5 separate regions of the Homo sapiens genome follow, and all the other regions are linked to region 2. Evidence: promoter capture Hi-C in 16 types of primary human blood cells and fetal thymus (Javierre and others, 2016). All regions are on one chromosome and are shown on one strand. The core of a region is centred on a gene start or on the middle of the fragment in contact, and the rest is flanking DNA. Distances in the headings are between cores, read along the strand shown. Region 1 has its middle 10 kb from the start of MIR6755. Region 2 holds the start of TMEM126A (transmembrane protein 126A). Region 3 overlaps EED (embryonic ectoderm development). Region 4 has its middle 10 kb from the start of LINC02695. Region 5 has its middle 24 kb from the start of EED.

Evidence for each region. Contacts are between HindIII fragments. The CHiCAGO score rates a contact against its expected background, and 5 or more counts as called.
Region 1: a contact is called between a fragment that was not itself captured here and the fragment with the promoter of TMEM126A in region 2, in 6 of 17 cell types (total CD8 T cells, M0 macrophages, naive CD4 T cells and 3 more). The highest score is 9.2, in total CD8 T cells.
Region 3: a fragment that was not itself captured here is called in contact with the fragment with the promoter of TMEM126A in region 2 in 6 of 17 cell types (naive CD4 T cells, total CD8 T cells, non-activated CD4 T cells and 3 more); the score reaches 13.0 in naive CD4 T cells.
Region 4: a fragment that was not itself captured here is called in contact with the fragment with the promoter of TMEM126A in region 2 in 5 of 17 cell types (non-activated CD4 T cells, naive CD4 T cells, total CD8 T cells and 2 more); the score reaches 10.8 in non-activated CD4 T cells.
Region 5: a fragment that was not itself captured here is called in contact with the fragment with the promoter of TMEM126A in region 2 in 6 of 17 cell types (naive CD8 T cells, total CD4 T cells, activated CD4 T cells and 3 more); the score reaches 12.5 in naive CD8 T cells.

What each region holds. Positions count from the first base shown.
Region 1 is chr11:86,287,176-86,289,875 of GRCh38, forward strand. It overlaps a transcript of EED not described here. Among named protein-coding and RNA genes, the nearest start is that of MIR6755, 10 kb to the left of the region's middle. The HindIII fragment of the contact is 5,987 bases long and covers 1-2,700 here.
Region 2 is chr11:85,646,663-85,649,362 of GRCh38, forward strand. It overlaps TMEM126A (transmembrane protein 126A), which reads left to right and starts at 1,305. Exons shown (of 5, transcript NM_032273.4): 1 at 1,305-1,427. RefSeq lists enhancers at 1,066-1,115, 1,286-1,555. The HindIII fragment of the contact is 2,186 bases long and covers 1,226-2,700 here.
Region 3 is chr11:86,268,351-86,271,050 of GRCh38, forward strand. EED (embryonic ectoderm development) reads left to right here. Exons shown (of 12, transcript NM_003797.5): 9 at 106-211. Among named protein-coding and RNA genes, the nearest start is that of MIR6755, 8.6 kb to the right of the region's middle. The HindIII fragment of the contact is 6,326 bases long and covers 1-2,700 here.
Region 4 is chr11:86,202,513-86,205,212 of GRCh38, forward strand. No RefSeq gene overlaps it. Among named protein-coding and RNA genes, the nearest start is that of LINC02695, 10 kb to the left of the region's middle. RefSeq lists enhancers at 1-198, 199-699. The HindIII fragment of the contact is 4,329 bases long and covers 1-2,700 here.
Region 5 is chr11:86,219,388-86,222,087 of GRCh38, forward strand. No RefSeq gene overlaps it. Among named protein-coding and RNA genes, the nearest start is that of EED, 24 kb to the right of the region's middle. The HindIII fragment of the contact is 1,675 bases long and covers 550-2,224 here.

The DNA of each region.
Region 1 (2,700 bases), core at 42-2,541, 640 kb after region 2:
GAAACACAGTAACCTAGGGAAAATGAGTCTAGATGGCTTTTACCAAGGGTAGTGGAAGTGGGGCCCACATTGTGAGAAATACAACCATAAGTAAAAAGTGCTAAATGGCCTCTCTTTAACCAGAGACCACAGTCTGTAACTTCCCCTGCTTTCAGTGGTTACCTCTGGGTTTCCCCTGTTGTGATTTATAGAAAATGACTATCACTTTGGAATTGAGCTGGTGGATTTCTACAAAGATTCTTGGTATTTCATGGTTATTTTCTGATGTAGAGCAAGACTTCATGTGAATGAAAGCAGATTCATTTTGCCTTTCTTGCTTGGGTACCCCAGGCTGATGTGGAATAAAAAATTGTTGGGTGATTTCTCTTACATTTCTGCATAATGAGTGAGGGAAGTGTGTGTGTTTAATTCCGAAACCAATAAACTGGGTTGCCAGAAAATCATTGATCATAAGAAGTGTATGGCACTGAACTGACACCCTGTGCTATATGGGCCATTATTTTTCTTCATTGCAAAATCACTATTTTTTATTTATTTATTGTTTTTGAGACAGAGTTTTGCTCTTGTTGCCCAGGCTGGAGTGCAATGGCGCAATCTCAGCTCATGGCAACCTGTGCCTCCTGGGTTCAAGCGATGCTCCTGCCTCAGCGTCCTGAGTAGCTGGGATTACAGGCATGCGTCTCCATGCCTGAATTTTGTATTTTTAGTAGAGATGAGGTTTCTACATATGGGTCAGGCTGGTCTCGAACTCCCGACCTTGACCTCCCAAAGTGCTGGGATTACAGGCATGAGCCACCGCGCTCAGCCATGCAAAATCACTTTTTAAACTGTTAATATTTCATATAAGAAAGGCTTGGCTTATCTTACTGAATCTGGTTGCAAATTGTCTTAATAATCCCAGTTCTGAATAGCAACCTGCAGGGGATGGTGGCTCAGGCCTGTAATCCCAGCACTTTAGAAGGCTGATGCAGGAAGATCACTTGAGCCCAAGAGTTTGAGACCAGCCCTGGCAACATAGCGAGATTCCATCTCTACAAAAAACAACTAGCCAGGTGTGGTGGCACATGCCTGTAGTCTTAGCTGCTTGGAAGGCTGAGGCAGGAGGATCGCTTGAGCCTTGAGCCATGATCCCGCCACTGCACTCCAGCTCTGGTGACAGAGCGAGACCCTGACTCTAATGAAAAATAATAAAATGAATAACTTATGTAAGAGTTCTGCATTATTCCCCTTAATCCCTGAGTAAATCTGGCTGAAATACAGAGTTTGTGACCCTTGGGAAGTCAAAACTCTCTGTGAAGGACCCTTCAAAATACTTTTTTGCCTTTGCTCTAAAATGTTAGCTCCTAGTAGACAGGAGAGAATCATTTATTCATGTATTTAATTGGCCAGGTGTGCAAAGCACTGTATTAGTGATGGCCCTATATAGACCTTTATTATGCAGTGGTTCCCACATGTGAAAAGAGTGAATGTACCATAATCATTTAGGGAGTATTTTAATAATAAACTCTCAAAAGTTTTGCTAAACTGCAATTTTATATTGGCTGGGCACAACACAAAACAGCCCAAAGTAGATATAATTATATAAAGTTGATTTCAGCCCAGCCCAGCCCAACTTTCCACAGTCAACTTGAAATTTTCTCACTGTTACTAACTGGTGTCTTTCAAACCCATGTCCAAGGTTACGGGTGGGAGTGGTAGAGAATTGTCACTAGCTCTGCCGCCTATTGAATTGCTTCTGTGTCTAGGATTTAGCAGTTCCTGTCCCAGACTGGGGCCTGACTCAGCTTTCTGCCAGGACTCTTCTCGTCTGTGGCTGTGCTTTCTAGTCTTCTGGGCCATAATCAAGGCCAGTACATCCAAGACGCCAGCTGTGAACAGACTAGGATTTGATAGGGCCCCTCACTGTCTGATGCCTCTTTCTGGTGGCCTTGCCAGGTTTAGAACAGGCAGCCTGCTAGGCTGCCTTCCTGGTAGTAGAGGCTTTCCAGGTAGTCAGGCTGCTTTCTACATGCATGATGTTGGGCTCAGTTAATATTTGTAAAACAAATGTCCTCTGGAAAGGGCTCTGCCTTTCTGAGTTACTGCCTCTCTTCTACCTCCTTTAATGACCTGCTCATTTTAGCATCTCATTGAAATGCACACATCTTGTGGTTTCCTATGCTCTAAAATCAGTGCCAGACTAAGAGCTCTTCAAACAGGAGCCTTTCCCCCCTCCCCGTCCTTTTTTTTTTTTTTTGAGACAGAGTATCACTCTGTCGCCCAGGCTGGAGTGCAGTGGTACGATCTCCATTCACTGAAACCTCTGCCTCCTGGGTTCAAGAAGTTCTCCTGTTTCAGCCTCCCAAGTAGCTGGGACTACAGGTGCACACCACCACGCCCAGCTAATTTTTGTATTTTTAATAGAGTCGGGGTTTCACCATATTGGTCAGGCTGGTCTCGAACTCCTGATCTCAGGTGATCCACCCGCCTTGGCCTCCCAAAGTGCTTGGATTACATGCATGAGCCACCGCGCCTGGCCCTTTCCTTATTTTTTGAATGCCCGTTGCTTAACACACTATATGACTCATAATAGACATTCAAAGAAATGTCAAATGAATGAAAAAATCAGCTAAACAATCTTTGCTTAAGTGAATTTCTGATGATTTTCAGGCTATATAGAAGAGAGTATAGGGGAGGTGAAGGCATGCTGGAACACCACTA
Region 2 (2,700 bases), core at 55-2,554:
TCAGTCTCAAAAACAAAAAAAAAAATCAGCTGATCAGCTGGGCGTGGTGGCACACGCCTGTAATCCCAGCTACTCTGGAGGCTGAAGCAGGAGAATCGCTTGAACCTGGAAGGCAGAAGTTGCAATGAGCTGAGATCAGGCCATTGCACTCCAGCCTGGCCGACGAGAGCAAAACTCTGTCTAAAAAATAAAAAATAAAAATAAAAAAAAGACTAGGAATTTTCCTTCTTGTACACCTTCGTGAAAATAAGTCTTTCTATTTGTGCAAGTTTAGAAACTGCAATTACAGACTTCTTGGCACTATGGAGCCTAATGGTCAAGCAACCCTGCAATGGAGAGACAGTATAAAAATTATCTGGACAATGCAACACTTTATCACTTGTTCAGAAATTTGAGAGGATGAGAATAATTAAGATTTCTGATAATGTGTTATGATCATGTATTTATTGCTACAGTTAGTTATATATTTTTTGGCACAATGTTTACCTGCTAATCTTAATGGAGTTAAGATAAAATTCAATTGTAGGCATTTTTCCCTTCTATTGGGTTAATTAGTCCAAGCGAACTGAGCAAAGGTTGCAGGGAGCCCCAGCATGGCTGAGGAAGACCTGGTGAGGCATCCACTGGCTGCTGGGAGGAGAGCATTAGAGGTACCTTCTGAACAGCACTGTCCAATAGAAATATAATGCAAGCCACATATATAATTCTAAATTTTCTAGTATTTATACTTAAAAAGCAAGAAGAAATAAGATGACTTTCACCCAACACTGCTTCCAAATAAGCAGTACTCTGGAGAACACGAGAAATCCTCAGAAAAATAAGCTGCAGCTCTGAGGTGCTGATTATGGTAGGGCAATCAATACAGATCAAAACATGGCACAGGGAGCTTAAGTTCCTAGGGAGAGTAGAAAATCGATAGAGCCAAGAAATAGCTCACCTTTGACTTATTTTTAACCTGAGTAGCTATCATATGCCAAGAGCTGTGCAGTTTTCATTTACCCCATGCCAAGAACGTAAGTAGGCTCTACTGACCAGGAAGTTAAGTAATATGCCCGAGGTACGTTTTCAATGGAAGAGGCTGACTGAGGGTCACCCAACTTATATCTCGAAATTTCACAATTTCTACAAGTTCTGTCCTGGGAGGCAAGAGTAGGTGAAACGAGCACACTCTACGCCAGGCAAACAAACCTCAACGCTTAGCCTCCCGGCACCTCCTAGGGCCGGAAGCTTCTCAGCCCAAAGCCGCTGCTGGCTGCAACCTCCGTCCCGCAGTCCAATTAGCAGCCGCGACCCGGCGCCCGCCCACGCCGCGTCACGAGTCAGCCAAAGATGGCTGCGCCCAGGTAATTTGAGCAAAGGCCACAGTGAACTCCGGCGTGGCTGAGGAAGGAGGAGGCACCCACAGGCTGCTGGGAGGAGAGCATAAGGTACTGGTATTCCGGGGGAGGGGGTGAAGTAAATGTCCCGGTGTCAGGAGAAGCACGACGCGGTGACACGCTAGCTACCAGCAGCGCTGCGCGTAAATGAGAGCAAGTAGAAGTGTAGTTAGCTCTTCCTGCTGTCTTTTCACTTTGCACTCTAGAAGGAAAGACCTTATATTTAAATTAACTCAGTAGAAAGGAGAAATGCCTGAGATTGAATTTAATCCCAGGTTTACTGTCAATTTACAAGGTGACCACGGCCAAATTTGATTTTCAGAGGTCCCACTTTACTTCTCTTTCAGATAGGCCCCACACTGCCTATCTCTCAGAGCTCTTCCAAGAATGACATGAGATAGGTAACACAAAAATCTTTCGAAATATTTGTAGTTTTTACAGGCGGCGTTGTCTTTGATAGATATTTGTTATTAATATCGGAGACAAAATGCCCACAGGGGCTGCCCAGTCAGCACTTATACTGAATTGAGTGACTTAATTGCCCTCAGTACAATATATACATACTAAATTTGATTATATATTTCACCACCCCATACACAAAATCATTCAGAGCTCCTGTACAGCAGAGATTGTGTCTTATCATCTTATCGTAGCCAAGGCCCTCAAAAATTTGACTACCAGAAACCTAGACATAAATTTCTAAGGCTGCTTTGTACTTATTAGGTTAGCTTTAAGTCTAGAGATATGGAATGTCAAGGTAATCAACATTTCCAAATGACCTCTTATCGATATAAAACAGGTAGCAATAAATATTTAAACGAGTGCCTGTAATGTTGTAGGAAATGAGAAAATCTGGTTTCATAAAAGCATGTTTTCCTTTGTTGTTATCCCTGAACTGTTTTTTTTTTTTTTTTTGTAGACCGAGTCTCGCTCTCACCCAGGCTGGAGTGCAGTGGCGAGATCTCGGCACACTGCAACCTCCACCTCCCAGGTTCAAGCGATTCTCCTGCCTCAGCCTCCCGAGTAGCTGGGATTACAGGCAGCTGCCGCCGTGCCTGGCTAATTTTTGTATTTTTAAAAGACAGGGAGTTTCACCATGTTGGCCAGGCTGGTCTCGAACTCCTGACCTCAGGTGATCCGTCTGCCTTGGCCTCCCAAGGTGCTGGGATTACAGGCGTGAGCCACTGCATCCAGCCTTTGTTTTTCTTAACTGTTACCCTGAAACCTGAGCCAAATCTTCATCATTCACCATTCCCTTCACATTTTCACCCTAACTAGTGCAGACATCAACAAACTACTGGCATGTAGGCCATATGCAGCCTAT
Region 3 (2,700 bases), core at 93-2,592, 620 kb after region 2:
TCTTACATTTTGTTTTTCCAAGTTTTATAAATCCAAAAATGAAAAAGAGTATGATTCTACTATAATTTTTTCTTTTAACTTTTTACATTTCCATTCTTCCTTCAGGCCATTTATTTCTCAGAAAATCCATTTTCCTGATTTTTCTACCAGAGACATACATAGGAATTATGTTGATTGTGTGCGATGGTTAGGCGATTTGATACTTTCTAAGGTATGGTAACTGCAGTTAAGCTGTACTTCCATCGTGTGTGTGTGTGTGTGTGTGTGTGTGTGTGTATGTGTGTGCGCATGTTGGAACTTGGCAGGGAGCACTTTATGTAGTTTATTAAATTGAATGGCAGCTGGGAAGTTGCCTTTTTTAAAGTCTCATATTTTGATATATTTAGAAACTTGTTTTAAGAATAAAACATGCCATTGAATTATAATTCTTTGTGCTCCAGTAAGATGAGTATAGTTTTATAAGGTGATAGTATTCTCTGATAGTCAGTATTGTTACAAGATAACCAGTAACTAAAGCCAACAGAATTGGCTTTTGTTTTTTTGTATCTCTGTGACTATTTTAGTAAAATTTTATTTATAAAAACAGGTGGCTGGAGTTGGCTTATGGGCTGTAGTTTGCCAACCCCTGCCCCTGTTGATGGATTTATACAGATGCTCCTCAACTTATGATGGGATTACATCGTGATAAACCCATCATAAATTGAAAACGCATTTAATACACATAACCTACTGAATATCAGCTTAGCCCAGCCTATCTTAAATGTGCTCAGAATTAGCCTACAGTTGGGCAAAATTATCTAACACAAAGCCTGTTTTATAATAAAGCATTGAATATCTCACATACTGCATACTGCTAGCCCAGGAAAAGATCAAAATTCAAAATTCCAAGTACTTCAAAATTGCAGCTGTTTTGTACCATTTTGGTAAAGTTGAAAAATTGTAAATCAGACCATTGTAAGTCAAGGCCATCTGGGTGTGTGTGTGTGTGTGTTTGTGTGTCTGTGTATTTTTTTGTAGCTGATAATTTAGAGAAGCTATTGGTGATGTTACATGAGCATTTAGGATTATCAAATTTGGTGAAATTGCTGTCCGGTTTCTTTTCTTGATGTGAATTTCAGGCCACTTCACATTTTCTTGGGCAGAGCCTGATTTACTTTTTTCTTGGCTTTATGTGTAAACTGTTTTTTTCTTTTTTCTTTAAACTTTTGACCTTCAAATAACTTGATTCATAGGATGTTTCAAAGATTGTGCAGAGAGGTCCCATATGATCTTTATCCAGAATCCAAAGTTTATATATTATATAACTGTAATACAATATCAAATCCAGAAAATTGACACTGGTACAATGTGTGTGTTTAGTTTTATGTCATTTTATCACGTGAATTTTGTCATTTCAAGAATGGTACAGTTTGGGACCTTTTAAGATTGTTTTTTTCCACTCAAACCCTTGAGATCCATCCAGGTTGTTGCCTGTATCAGTAGTTCTCCTTTTTTATTGCTGAGTAGTATTCCATGGTATGGATTACCATAGTTTATGTAACTATCTATGGTAGGAGGTTTTGGTCATTTCCAGTTCTGGGCTATTGCAAATAAAGCTGCTAATCAGCAGTTGTGTCCAGGTTTTTGTGTGGACTTAAGTTTTCATTTCTCTGGGTAAATGCCTAGGAGGGCAATTGCTGGGTTGTGGTTAAGTTTGTTTAGTTTTTTAAGAAACTGCCAAACTATTTTCCAGAGTGGCCGTGCCATTTTACATTCCCACCAGCAATGTATGAGAGATCCAGTGTCTCCGAATCTTCGCCAGCATTTGGTATTGTCATTATTTTTTATTTTAGCTGTTCTGATAGGTGTGTAGTGATATCTCATCGTGGTCTTAATTTGCATTTCCCTGATGGCTAGTGATGTTGAACATCTTTTTCATGTGCTTATTTACCATTCGTATATCCTTTTTGGTGATGTCTTTTCATATCTTTTGCTCATTTTCTAATTGGATTGGTTTTTTGTTGTGTTTTTTTTTTTTTTTTAACTGTTGAGTTTTGAGAGTTTGAATATATTCTAAATATGAATCCTGTATCAGATACATAGTTTGCAAATATTTTCTTTCAGTCTGTAGCTTGTCATTTCATCCTCTTTAATAGGGTCTTTCACAGAGCAAATGTTTGTAGTTTTTATTAAATCCAGTATATTGATTTTTTAAAATTATTTTATGGATTATGCTTTTGATGTTTTGCCTGAGAACTCCTTACCAAGCTATAGACCTTAAAGATTTTCTCCTGTGTTCTCTTGTAAAAGTTTTATACTGCTATGTTTTACATTAAATGTGTAATCCATTTTGAGTTGATTTCCTTATGAAGGTGCGAGGTTTAGGTGGAAGTTCATTTTTCTCTTATAGATACTCAGTTGTTCCATCAGCATTTGTTGGAAGACTATTCTTCCGCCATTGAATTGCTTTTGCACCTCTCTCAGAAATTGTTTGGCTGTACTTACGTGGGGCTGTTTTTGATTTTCCTGTTCTGTTTCATCTGTATATCTGTCCCTCCACCAGTACTACATACACAGTCCTCATTATTGTAGCTCTATAATTATTCTTGGAATCTGATAGATTTTTCCCGCTTTTATTTTTTTCATAATTGTTTTGAGCTATTCTAATTCCTTTGTCTTTCTGTGTGTAAATTTTAGAATAATCTTTTCTACATTTCTAAA
Region 4 (2,700 bases), core at 54-2,553, 560 kb after region 2:
ATGCTGTCTTCCTTTGGTTCCATGACAGGCTCTCTTCTTTTCTTCCTTTCCCTATTCTTAGAACTGAAGAGACTCAAGGAAATGCTACAACGGAATCAAAACAATTTTATTTTATTTTTTGAGACGGAGTCTCCCTCTGTCGCCCAGGCTGGAGTGCAGTGGCGCGATCTCCGCTCACCGCAAGCTCCGCCTCCCGGGTTCACACCATTCTCCTGCCTCAGCCTCCGCAGGCGCCCGCCACCACGCCCTGCTAATTTTTTGTATTTTTTTTAGTAGAGACGGGGTTTCACCGTGTTAGCCAGGATGGTCTCCATCTCCTGACCTCGTGATCCGCCCGCCTTGGCCGGCCTTCCAAAGTGCTGGGATTACAGGCGTGAGCCACTGCGCCCGGCCTCAAAGCAATTTTTACCCCATCTCTCCTCCCTGTGGTTGGTTCCACTTCTCTTCCTTCTTTAGCAAGAGTCATTTCTTCCCCTTTGAGTCCTGCTGCACTTCCTTCTTTTTCTCACTTCCATGTCACTCAGAGGTTAAGGCAGTTGTAGAGCAAAACAACCAGCTGACAAGCAATAGATGTTATGCAATTCACCATTTATTCTGTGCAACATTAATTAGCTGGTTGTCCTGATTTTCACAGCCTGTGCCCACCCCATACATTGTTGACTTCATTACTTCTAATAAGAATTAATCTTTTTTTCCATTTGAATCCCACAGAATGTGGTTTGAGTCTCTAATCTGATTATTACAGTCTGCCCTTCCTCAGGGTTATTTTTGTATATGCTCCCTCACTAAATCACAACATCCTTATAAACAGTGATGTGCACATAATAGATACTCAATAATTGTTAACTCACTGATGAGTCCTAAATTTGACTAACTTGCCATTGGTTTTGGTAACATTTGGGTAAATCTTGATTCAGCAATTGGCACTCAGACTTTTGCTCATATCTAGAAAAAAAGGAACATATATAAATAGAAAAAAATATTATCTGTTGAAGACCTTTCTATTTTTCACCCTCCATATTAAGATTGTAGTACTATTGTTTGTTTACAATTCATACCACACCTGCTTTCTAAGAGGCTTTAAGTAGACGTATTAGGCAATATATTCACTTATTCATTAATTCATTCATTCACTGATTTACTCAATAGTCACTTAATGAGTCCCTATCATAGGCTAGGGATAGGATAGAAAGTCTAATAAAAGGTTGGGCATGGTGGCTCATGCCTGCAGTACCAGCACTTTGGGAGGCTAAGGCTGGCAGATGGCCTGAGTTCAGGAATGCTAGACCAGACTGGGCAACATGGCGAAACCCTGTCTCTACTGAAAATACAAAGTGTGGTGGCACCCACCTTTAATCCCAGCTACTTGGGAGGCTGAGGCATAAGAATCACTTGAACCCGGGAGGCAGAGATTGCAGTGAGCCAAGCTGGCACCACTGCACTCCAGCCTGGGTGACAGAGTGACACTCTGTTTAAAAAAAAAAAAAAAGTCGAATAAAATGTGGTAACCTCTTTCAAAATCTGGGAGCAGGGGGGAGACACATAAGTAAAGCAATTGCTACTGTGCCATAAACACTGTAGCCTAAAGGAGAAGCATCTAAGTGAGATTGGAACTTCTTGGGAGATGCGACCCCTGAAACTAGCTTTGAGGTTAAGAGGAGGAGATAGCTGGAGAATTGGGGATGGTGGAGCAAGGGTTTTTATGAGAAGGAAATGTGCCATGTGCAAAAACTGAGATGGGAAATAAAATTACATGCTCCAGAAACTGCTCAAGAAATTCAATAGGACAGATCCATAACATCCTAGTTGAGGAATGGCAGGAGACAAGCTAGTGAAATGAACATGTGTCAGATCTAAAAGCATCTTGTGTCTTAAAGTAAGGAATAGTAACATCAAAGCTATGGAACACATCGAAACTCCTCTGCCAGGCAAGTGGGGTCTCAGATGCCATTCTGGGATTATACTTACAGAAGCTGGGTGTGGTTATGGGTAGGGTAAGACACTCCCCATAATATGCATGGAATAGAACTGAGAGGATCTGAAAGTGAGGGCCCAGGGGACAAAGCTAGGATTAATTCAAAGCTGACAGGAAACCAGAAATAATTAATATGAAACATGACCAGAAAGTACTAAGACATAGCAAAGAGGAAAAAATGCAGGGTCAGAGGCACAGCTTAGCATCTTTTTGTTGTTGCTGTTGTTCAGACAGAGTGTTCAGTCTGCTGCCCAGGCTGAAGTGCAGTGGCGCAATTTCAGCTCACTGCAACCTTCACCTCTTGGGTTCAAGAAATTCTCATGCCTCAGCCTCCCGAGTAGCTGGGACTACAGGTGTGCACCACCACACCCAGCTAATTTTTTGTATTTTTAGTAGAGATGAGGTTTCACCATGTTGGCCAGGCTGGTCTCAAACTCTTAGCCCCAGGTGATCTACCTTCTTCAGCATCCCAAAGTGCTGGGATTACAGGCATGAACCACCACACCCAGCCACAGCTCAGTATTTTAAAGCCACCTTTTCCCTTTTTGAGCTCCTTGAGCCAGTGTCTGGATGGTAAAGGAATATTTTGAACTGATTTGGACCTAAGGCTATCCAAGTATTTTAAGCAGAAGAGTGATAGGGCCTGTTGTTGCTCTTTTAACTCTAGACACACAGCATCTTGCTATGTCCTGTGAGCTCTACCCCATATGTGTCTGGCCCAGAGA
Region 5 (2,700 bases), core at 137-2,636, 570 kb after region 2:
AAAGAGATGGGGCAGACAGAGATACAGGAAAGAATGGTGACTATGTAACTATAAGTCATGACGAATTCTCTCCTGAGAATACCAGTATGTTATAGAAAGAACACTGACTAAGTGTCAGAAAACTCAGCTCAAGTCCCATTTGGTTTTTAATGAACTGAATGATCACTAACCTACTCTCTGGGCCTCAGCGTTTTCTCTAAAGAACCAAAGCAGTGGGTTATATGACCTCTGAAGTTTATTACCATGTTGACATTGTATGACCATCTCTCTATTCAAGCATAGTGGTAGGATGGCGCTCAGATTGCACCTGTCACAGAGACTGGCATACTATGTGTGCTAATAAGTGCCAGTTCCTCTTTTCTTCGCACATAATGGAAATATTCTGCAACATTCTCAATTTTAATAAGGAGAAAAGTTCATCTTTATCCATTGAGGATAACATGGTAAAAGAGAATTGTACTACGTATTTAATTTAATTTTATGGAAGAATTTTTCAGTGGTTAAGTCTATTTTTAATTCCAGGTCTTGCCATATGCTGTTTCAAGGGGAAGCTTCTATTCTACAACAAACTACTTTTTGAGTCAAATGAAGAACTGAAAAATAGTTAGGCTTAAACAAATTCTTAGTCAACCACATCATGGTCTGGAAAGACACAAAAATCATTTGGCAAAGATTGCTCTAAATACAGTGAGAAAGGAGAAAGGCAGCAGGTGATGCCAATCAAAAAGGAGAATGCACTTTGGGAGGCTGAGGCGGGTGGATCACAAGGTCAGGAGATCGAGACCATCCTGGCTAACACAGTGAAACCCTCTCTCTACTAAAAATACAAAAAATTAGCCAGGCGTAATGGCGGGCGCCTGTAGTCCCAGCTACTCCGGAGGCTGAGGCAGGAGAATGGTGTGAACCCGGGAGGCAGAGGTTGCAGTGAGCTGAGATGGCGCCACTGAACTCCAGCCTGGGCGACAGAGCTGGACTCCGTCTCAAAAAAAAAAAAAAAAAAAAGGAGAATGACTTTAAATAAGATATTAGGAGATTCTGGAGAATTAAACTAAAGTTTTTGGAACCTATGACAATTGCAGATGTTCAGATTAATATGTGTAGGAACAACTTTTGTATCCGTGATTTTAAAGGAATAAGGAGTTCTATTTGTGGGACTTTTCACATTTACTAAACTTTAGTTCTTTATTTTTCTAAAAACTGATTTAATTTCACTATTTTATCAGGATGTTTTCCTGACTTACTTAAAAGAAGTCTAAACTACCTGCCATTCCTGCAAAAACATGGTGTTCTTTCACTCGTCTGTGTTTTTGTGGGTGCTGTTTCCTTCTCCTGGAAGTCCTCCCTCCTATTCTACCCTCCAAAACCTATTTTAAATCTCTGTGAAGACATGCTGTACTCCAGTCAGCAAAGTAAGTTGCTCCACTGTGGTCCACCAGTCTTGGCTCATAGCTCTCTTATTTTCATAATCACTGAGGCCCTCACTGGGTGAACACCAGTTACACCCAGTTGGGCATCAGTGTAGGATTTGAGGAGGAAGCTGATTAGGACACCAGCACTCAATTATAAGAAGCTAGGAGCCTTTCTTTATTGAACATCTAATACTATTATCTGTTAAAAAACTTTATTTAATGTTTTCCTCTGATGCTGTTCTGAGTATATTCTGAGAGGCTCTTAATAGAAGTGAAATTGTGTGGGGGAGTGGGGGGGGGATCTACAAGAGGAGGGTGCTGAGATAGGAGGGTAAAGATAAGAAACTCCAGTCCCAGAAGTCTTTGCAAGATGCAAGATCTAAGTTTACCCATTCCCATATTCTCACTTAGTTGACCTTTTATGGTTCTTCAGATTTCAGCTTCCTCAGGAAAGTGTTTCATGATCTTTCTTTTGAGAACAATCACAACATCATAAACCTCTCATCCATAGTATTTAACATAGTTGTAAATGTATCTGTATATGTGATTTTTTGATGGGCATCTGTTTCCACTAGCAGACTCATGAAAATAGAGACTTATATCTGGTTTTGCTCACCATTATTCTCTAGGATAAAACCTGGTACATAGTACGATTTCAATATTAGCAGAGCAAATTAATATTTTTGCATAAAAGGCAGTAGGGTAAACCAAATTGAAACATGGATTTGAAGGAACTGCTTAAAGTAACTTATCAGTATTGCTAATCATCAACGACAGAATCCGACAGGTTTGAGAATTTTGTGAAACGGCATGAAAGCTTTTTCCCTCCTGACAACAAACATATGGTATCTTTTCCAACATCACTTCTTCAGCTCTCTGACATCAATTGACTGTCCAACAATTCAATTAATTTCTGACATTATCTACCTGGAGTTAGCATCAGATCCCATAATTCAAAGGGTTCAGTCCTACAAGACTGCCCCCACTTCAAATGCTGTTTGCAAGTTTTGGGCCACCAGTACTTCTGACTAACCAGCTGTAAATCAGGGTTCCTTTGACCCCCTCCTCATGTTTGACAATTTGCTAGAAAGCTCACACAACTTAAAAAGGCACTTTGCTTATGTTTACTGGTTTATTATAAAGGATACAAATGAACAGCCAGATGGAGAAGTATATAAGGTGAGATTCAGAAGGGAATGTGCAGGAGCATCTGTCCCCGTGGAGCTGGGGTGCACCACCCTCCCAGTACGTTGGGTGTTCACCATCCTGGAAGCTCCCTAAACCCCATTGT